3 separate regions of the Homo sapiens genome follow, and regions 2 and 3 are each linked to region 1. Evidence: promoter capture Hi-C in 16 types of primary human blood cells and fetal thymus (Javierre and others, 2016). All regions are on one chromosome and are shown on one strand. Each heading gives the region's core, a stretch centred on a gene start or on the middle of the fragment in contact. The rest is flanking DNA. Distances are from core to core; before and after follow the strand shown. Region 1 holds the start of TAAR6 (trace amine associated receptor 6). Region 2 has its middle 1.6 kb from the start of SLC18B1. Region 3 overlaps SLC18B1 (solute carrier family 18 member B1).

What was found. Contacts are between HindIII fragments. The CHiCAGO score rates a contact against its expected background, and 5 or more counts as called.
Region 2: a fragment that was not itself captured here is called in contact with the fragment with the promoter of TAAR6 in region 1 in 1 of 17 cell types (monocytes); the score reaches 6.4 in monocytes.
Region 3: a contact is called between a fragment that was not itself captured here and the fragment with the promoter of TAAR6 in region 1, in 1 of 17 cell types (M1 macrophages). The highest score is 7.2, in M1 macrophages.

Annotation. Positions count from the first base shown.
Region 1 is chr6:132,569,004-132,571,665 of GRCh38, forward strand. TAAR6 (trace amine associated receptor 6) reads left to right here and starts at 1,319. Exons shown (of 1, transcript NM_175067.1): 1 at 1,319-2,356. The coding sequence starts at 1,319. The coding sequence ends at 2,356. The HindIII fragment of the contact is 3,206 bases long and covers 1-2,662 here.
Region 2 is chr6:132,798,935-132,801,596 of GRCh38, forward strand. No RefSeq gene overlaps it. Among named protein-coding and RNA genes, the nearest start is that of SLC18B1, 1.6 kb to the left of the region's middle. The HindIII fragment of the contact is 2,853 bases long and covers 1-2,662 here.
Region 3 is chr6:132,770,119-132,772,780 of GRCh38, forward strand. It overlaps SLC18B1 (solute carrier family 18 member B1), which reads right to left. Exons shown (of 14, transcript NM_052831.3): 11 at 2,014-2,088; 12 at 918-1,011; 13 at 772-821; 14 at 1-218. The coding sequence ends at 152. Among named protein-coding and RNA genes, the nearest start is that of VNN2, 14 kb to the left of the region's middle. The HindIII fragment of the contact is 3,459 bases long and covers 1-2,662 here.

The sequences.
Region 1 (2,662 bases), core at 69-2,568:
TATTGAGTAGGAATCAGATAGCGAGATTGATTAATAATAATACTTATCACTCTTTATAACTTGAAAAGCAAGTTCACAAATGTCTCTAAAGTCACAGCCCTGTACTGGAAAGAGAGTTGAACCCTTCTTCAGGAAGACAATAATATAATAATAACAATATTTTCTTCACTCTGCAGTGTCTTTACATTCCAGGGTTGGGAACATTACTGAGGATTCTCTTCCCATTTTCCAGTTTCCTGTTCATTATTCTTATTTTTTTGACTGCTTTTAGCATCGGGAGCACAAAGGCCAGTCACCAGGAATTGCAAACAAATGCGTAGTCAGAGAGAGAGGGCTCACTGCCCATTTGTCATGTGGATGCAGACACATTGCAGATGTGTTCCCAGTAACAATGTCTTGAGAAGAGGACTGGTCTTTCCACCAGCATCTCAGAAATGCCGGTGTGTCTAAACAGCATGTCGTTCTTTAATGCTTTCATGCAATATATTTTATCAATCTCAAGTTCCCCTCACTATGTATTATAATAATTTCTGCTTGTTGGTAACCAATGCAGATGGAAAATTGATTCTTAACAGAAGAGAAAGAGCCAAGTATTGATGCTTACTATTTACACCCTATTGTATCTTTGTAACAAAAACCCGGGTGGCTAAGTTATGATTGGGAACAAGGGAATGGTTCAAGTCTATGCACTAAGGAAAAACAAATCTTTGGCCTAAAACAATAATGATAATAGAATTTAATATAGAGTAGAGACCTGTTTTGTAGAATAACTTTCCTAGTAATCACTGTTGAAAATAATCATACTAGTTCACACCGCGCACTACAGGGATTCCATCGAGGGATTTTCCCATTGAAGGCATTTATTTAGCTAAAAGGACTTCATCTTTAAGGCGGTAATGCAGGACAGATAACAGAGATAAAGATAACAGGAGGTGATCTTTCAGCTCCATAATTACATTCCATATCAGCGACTGTTGCACAGAGAAACTCAAAAGGTAAAAATAAAATATGAAAGGATATTTAAAATCAAAAGGAATTTTATCAAATTAAGAGCATGAGACATTTATCAGTTGAAACAATCTCCAATAATCTTGTGCAATATAATTTTTGTCAAATTTTATTTTGTCATAAACATTTGGGATTTATAATAAAAATGGAAACTTGAAAAATTATATTAGAGATAATATCTGATCATTTCCTCTGGCATCCTGGTGAATATGTGTTTTTTTCCGCAGGAGCACTGAAAATCAGGAACAATCCTGTATTTTTTGTGATAATCAACAAGGACAAAACTTCTCCATATGTAAATAACAGCGTTATGAGCAGCAATTCATCCCTGCTGGTGGCTGTGCAGCTGTGCTACGCGAACGTGAATGGGTCCTGTGTGAAAATCCCCTTCTCGCCGGGATCCCGGGTGATTCTGTACATAGTGTTTGGCTTTGGGGCTGTGCTGGCTGTGTTTGGAAACCTCCTGGTGATGATTTCAATCCTCCATTTCAAGCAGCTGCACTCTCCGACCAATTTTCTCGTTGCCTCTCTGGCCTGCGCTGATTTCTTGGTGGGTGTGACTGTGATGCCCTTCAGCATGGTCAGGACGGTGGAGAGCTGCTGGTATTTTGGGAGGAGTTTTTGTACTTTCCACACCTGCTGTGATGTGGCATTTTGTTACTCTTCTCTCTTTCACTTGTGCTTCATCTCCATCGACAGGTACATTGCGGTTACTGACCCCCTGGTCTATCCTACCAAGTTCACCGTATCTGTGTCAGGAATTTGCATCAGCGTGTCCTGGATCCTGCCCCTCATGTACAGCGGTGCTGTGTTCTACACAGGTGTCTATGACGATGGGCTGGAGGAATTATCTGATGCCCTAAACTGTATAGGAGGTTGTCAGACCGTTGTAAATCAAAACTGGGTGTTGACAGATTTTCTATCCTTCTTTATACCTACCTTTATTATGATAATTCTGTATGGTAACATATTTCTTGTGGCTAGACGACAGGCGAAAAAGATAGAAAATACTGGTAGCAAGACAGAATCATCCTCAGAGAGTTACAAAGCCAGAGTGGCCAGGAGAGAGAGAAAAGCAGCTAAAACCCTGGGGGTCACAGTGGTAGCATTTATGATTTCATGGTTACCATATAGCATTGATTCATTAATTGATGCCTTTATGGGCTTTATAACCCCTGCCTGTATTTATGAGATTTGCTGTTGGTGTGCTTATTATAACTCAGCCATGAATCCTTTGATTTATGCTTTATTTTACCCATGGTTTAGGAAAGCAATAAAAGTTATTGTAACTGGTCAGGTTTTAAAGAACAGTTCAGCAACCATGAATTTGTTTTCTGAACATATATAAGCAGTTGTATAGACGAAGTTCAGGATACCTTTAAAATTACCAAGCGAAATGAGTTTTTAAAAATCAAGTAAGACTATGAATGAATAGCAAATAAATTGCTCTTCAAATGAAAAACAAATCAATGTTTTTCAGTCTTGTTAAGATGTGCACTTTCCTGTCCCTTCTGCAAAAGTATTTACTTGGCTAACAAATGTTAAATTCCTATTTGTTAACTGCTTTAGAGCTCAGCATATCCCACTCCCTGCAGACACTTTTTGTCTTTTAATCCATTGACTCTTCCCTCTGCTCTGGTATTTTTCCTAAAAA
Region 2 (2,662 bases), core at 115-2,614, 230 kb after region 1:
AAAATTAGGTTATACAGGAACTTTGAAAGAGTGAATTATTTTTCACAGTGGGTAAATGCGGTAGTGTTCGTAATTACTGAAGCCAGACACTATTGAACCGGAAATGAATTAACCTATGTGAAGCACCTGGAGTCGAAAAATATTTGCAAGAATACTAATGAATATCGAGGAAGCATGGCGAAGTGGCTAGGAGTGCGACCTCTGGAGGCAGGTGCCAGGGATTCAAGCCAGGGCACTTGCTGGCAGTGTGTAACTTTGGATGACAAGGTCAGTTTCTCTACCTGTACAACTGAGATTATAATGTTTATCTCGTAGGGCGGCTGTGAGCATTGGCGATAAAGTGTGTTAGTAGTTAGCACATGAACATGATGGCTGCTACCTTACTCTCACACTCACAGTTTTCTTGCATAAAAAATAGGTTTCACTTATTTTCACCGTATTTACTATTTGGGAAGTGTTAAAGCTCGAGGACTGGCTGGACACGGTGGCTCATGCCTGTAATCCCAGCAGTTTGGGAGGCCGAGGTGGGCAGCTCACCTGAGGTCAGGAGTTCTAGACCAGCCCGGCCAACATGGTGAAACCCTGTCTCTACTATAAAAATACAAAAAAATCAGCCAGGCGTGGTGGCAGGCACCTGTAATCCCAGCTACTAGGGAGGCTGAGGCAGGAGAATCGTTTGAACCTGGGAGGCGGAGGTTACAGTGAGCCAAGATCCAAAAGAATTGTGTGAGGGTAGCTTTATCGACTGAGAATCTGCCTCAGATCCACTGTACAAGGTCAGTTCCAGTACACAGTATGGCTGATAGTAAGTTTGTAATTACTGTGCCACCTCATTCCAGCCTGGGTGAAAAAGCGAAACTCTGTCTCAAATAAATAAATAAAGTTTAAGGACTGGGAAATTCTTGTTTTGAAGCCAAAGCAAAACAAAAGACTGAGTTACCACTTTGTGCCAGGCATTATGAATTTAAAGAGGAATGAGCCCCATCCAGACTCTGCCCTCAAGTAGCACACCTTCTAGCAGATGAAATTCACACTAATTAATAATCTACTATAATGCAATCGGTTGTATACAAACATATTGGAAGAACCATTTACTTTGGCAAATGGGTCCTGGATGACTTCCTGAGGAAGTGATGTTACCTTGGTTCTTGAAGGTTATGTAAAAACTCCCCAGTGAGGGCCGGGCGCGGTGGCTCACGCCTGTAATCCCAGCACTTTGGGAGGCCGAGGTGGGCGGGTCACGAGGTCAGAAGTTCGAGACCTGCCTGACCAACACGGTGAAACCCCGTCTCTACAAAAATACAAAAATTAGCTGGGCATGATGGCACCCAGCTACTCAGGAGACTGAGGCAGGAGAATCGCTTGAACCTGGGACTCGGAGGTTGCAGTGAGCAGAGATCATGCCATTGCACTCCAGCCTGGGCAACCGAGCGAGACTCCATCTCAAAAAAAAAAAAAAAAAAATTCCCCAGTGGGCAAGTTGTAAAGGAGAACCTAGAGAACCACTCTGAACAGAAAGTTCCACTCTAAGCCAGGTGCTGTGGCTCACGCCTGTAATCCTAGCACTTTGGGAGGCCGAGGCAGGCAAATCACCTGAGGTCGAGAGTTTGAGACCAGGCTGACCAACATGGAGAAACCCTGTCTCTACTAAAAATACAAAATTAGCTGGGCATGGTGGCGCATGCCTGTAGTCCCAGCTACTCGGGAAGCTGAGGCAGGAGAATCGCTTGAACCTAGGAGGCAGAGGTTGTGGTGAGCCAAGACAGCACCATTGTGCTCCAGCCTGGGCAACAAGAGTGAAACTCCATCTCAAAAAAAAAAAAAAAAAAAAAAAAAGAAAAGAAAAGAAAGTTCCAATCTAGCAAAGTTTCCCTAAAGTAGCCTTATGAAATCTTTATGATCTAACCCCTGACAGCTTCTCCAATCTCATTTAACTCTATGCTTTCTCTTCAATCTAACATCAATCTGTAGAGGGAAATTTTCTTGAATGATTTCTTTGATGATTACATTTCCTCTTTTATTTTCTTTCTGGACTGCACTTTATGTGAATGTTGGGTCACCCAAACTGGTCCTTTTACTTATTTCTCTTTTTCTTCTCTCTTTTATTTTATTTTATTTTTTTTAGACAGGGTCTCACTCTGTTTCCCAAGCTACCATGACATATAATGGCTCACTGCAACCTCAAATTCCTGAGCTCAACTGATCCTCCCACCTCAGCCTCCCGAGTAGGTGGGACTATAGGCCTGTGCCACCACACCTGGCTAGTTATTATTTTTTCTTTTTTTTTCCTCCATGTTATAGGAAGTATCCCTAACTGTATCTTGCCATCTGAATTTTTGCCAACTGAATCTTGCCAACTGTATCTTGCCAATTGAATGTTTCATTTCTGTTGCCATCTATTTCCTTGTATCTCCATTCTCATTCCTCTCCCCATTTGCAATAATTCTTGCATGTTTAATGCAAATCTTGTTCTTTATGTTCTCAAAAAAATCTATGTTCTTATGTGTCCATCTACTTTTAATTTACATAAAGTCTATTCATATCCCTATCCTCCGCTCCTCTTGTAATCTCTACCTCTCATTCTCCCTTCAGATAATCAGTTTTATAATCAAATATATTATTGTGTTAGTTTTCTGGGGCTGCTGTACAAATCAACACAAAT
Region 3 (2,662 bases), core at 55-2,554, 200 kb after region 1:
AGGATCATCCAAAAACACGTTGACACTTCCAAGACACTGGCACGGGGTCCACGGAGTTTTGCGCGTAAAATTTTAAAAACCCTTCCTACGGTGATGTTTAAGGCCAGGAGCATTCATTTCTCAACCTTGTATCAATCCAGGATCCATCGGACTAGGTTTCATTAGGCAAGAGAGTAGTTCGTTCCTCCTCTGTGCTGAGGATGTTTTGAGATTTAGACCTACATTGAGGGAAAGAAGAGATGAATCTCAATATTTCTCATCTTAAAAACAAACAAACAAACAAAAAACCAGTACCTGTATCTCCATCCAACTATCTTTTTAAAAAAGTTTCTACTGCCCGGGCATGGTGGCTCACGCCTGTAATCCCAGCATTTTGGGAGGCAGAGGCAGGCGGATCACTTGAGGTCAGGAGTTCGAGACCAGCCTGGCCAACATGGTGAAACCCTGTCTCTACTAAAAATACAAAAATTAACTGGGCATGGTGACCCATGCCTGTAATCTCAGCTACGTGGGAGGCTGAGGCAGGAAAACCGCTTGAACCCGGGGGGCAGAAGTTGCAGTGAGCTGAGATTGTGCCACTGCATGCCAGTCTGGGTGACAGAGCAAGACACCATCTCAAAAAATAAAAATTAAAAAAGTATCTACCAACTGATGAGCCTCAGAGTGCTTAGAAATCCACTGACTGGAAGAATAAATGTAAAATGTTATTTATTTTCCACTTGCACTGGCTAACTTTTAAAGAGAGAAAAAAAGCCCCAAAATTGACCATACCTTTTTCTCCTTGAATACTCCAGTAGATAAAACAAGCCCATGGCTAATCCCTTAAACACAATTAAAAGTACTGATTAATGTAAATTTTCCAAGTCAAGTTTTTCCACAAATATAAGGAAAATGCAAATAAAAGACTGATTACTCACACTTATCAGAGCCCATAGACCTTGTATAGCTGCTGCCCATTCAAAACCAATTTTCTCATACAGAAATCCACCCAGCGTTGGTCCCATAAAAGCACTAACAATAGAAAGAAGAAAAAGTATTCAATAGTGCAAAAAATAAATAATTACTTCATGAAAAGCTACATGATCCTTCAATTGTAAGTCTTCATTACATTGGAAGATAAGTACTAAAGATAAAGCTAATTCCTGGGCACAGCATTCAGTAAAAGAAAATAATTCTACCTGATAATGACATTCAAAATTTTTTAACAATTTTGAAATTATTACTGCTTCTGAAAAGTTGATGGCTTATATAAAAATAAAAAATATGAAACAGATTTAAAAAATTCTTTATATTATTCTATTCTCAGTATTTGCAACTAATATAACTCAATTCAAAACAATATATTACATTGTTAGCATAGTTACCCTTCTGGTAGAAGGTAAAAAATAAACAAATGAATGAATAAATGAATAAATTGTAAAAATCAGAGACATGTTTCTATTAAAGGAACTTATAAATACCACTCAAATAAGATAAAGTATATGAAACCATTTTGACTAAGTATTAAACTGTTGGTATAGGCATTGATTGTTGAGTGAAAGGGTATGGATTAGAACTCTGGCTTTCCCCTAGATGAACTGTTTGTCTTTGAGAAACTCATCTGATCCCTCAGTGTTTCAATTTCTTCATCAACATCAAGCAGGGATAGTATTAATATTTTCCATCTTGCAAGTATGAATGAAATTAAATGAGGCTGGGCACAGTGGCTCATGCCTGTAATCCCAGCACTTTGGGAGGCCAAGGCGGGCAGATCACCTGAGGTCAGGAGTTCAAGACCAGCCTGGCCAACACGGTGAAACCCTGTCTCTACTAAAAATACAAAAATTAGCCAGATGTGGTGGTGGGCACCTGTAATCTCAGCTACTCAGGAGGCTGAGATAGAAGAATCTCTTGGACCTGGGAGGCGGAGGTTGCAGTGAGCCAAGATCGCACCATTGCACTCCAGCCTGGGTGATGAGAGTGAAACTCCATCTCAAAAAAAAAAAAAAAGAAAGAAATTAAATGACTACTCACCCAATTGACCACATTGCACTAAAAAGACCTGATACAAGTCCCAATGTACTTAATCCCTCTTCAAACCCATTTTCACTGCAAAAAGAGACATGAGTGTATCCATTATTAAAAGGAAAACCTGTGTGAAAGAAAAAATTGTATGATAGATCAATTAAGATAAACCAAGGATAATCTGGAAAAAAACCAACAGCAAGAATACTCTGCTTCTAAGATAAAAAGCAAATCTTATTTAAAAGAATTTTCATAGTTACATTTACTCCATGGTTTTCTAGAAATAATTTTTCTGCATATATATATGATATTAAGAAGCATGGCTCATTTGCATTAAATACTTATAAAAATATATAATTAAGAAATTCTTAAAATGAGATGAAGATGGAAAGAGAACAAAGGCAACTTTTAAAAAACAGAGATAGTTCCTTATTCCCATGAGAACTATTGAACTGACCCAGCACAGCCATAGTACTTAGTGTTCTTCATCATCATGCCTATTAAACAAAAGAATGATGACCAGGTGACAGATGCTGGTCACTCTAGGCTCTCTCATGGACCTCCTCCATGAAAGAGGAACAATGCTGAGACCTATCTATTTTGCTTTAGCTTTTCAAAATTACTTACATACTGAGGCATAAACCAAGCCAGACATCTG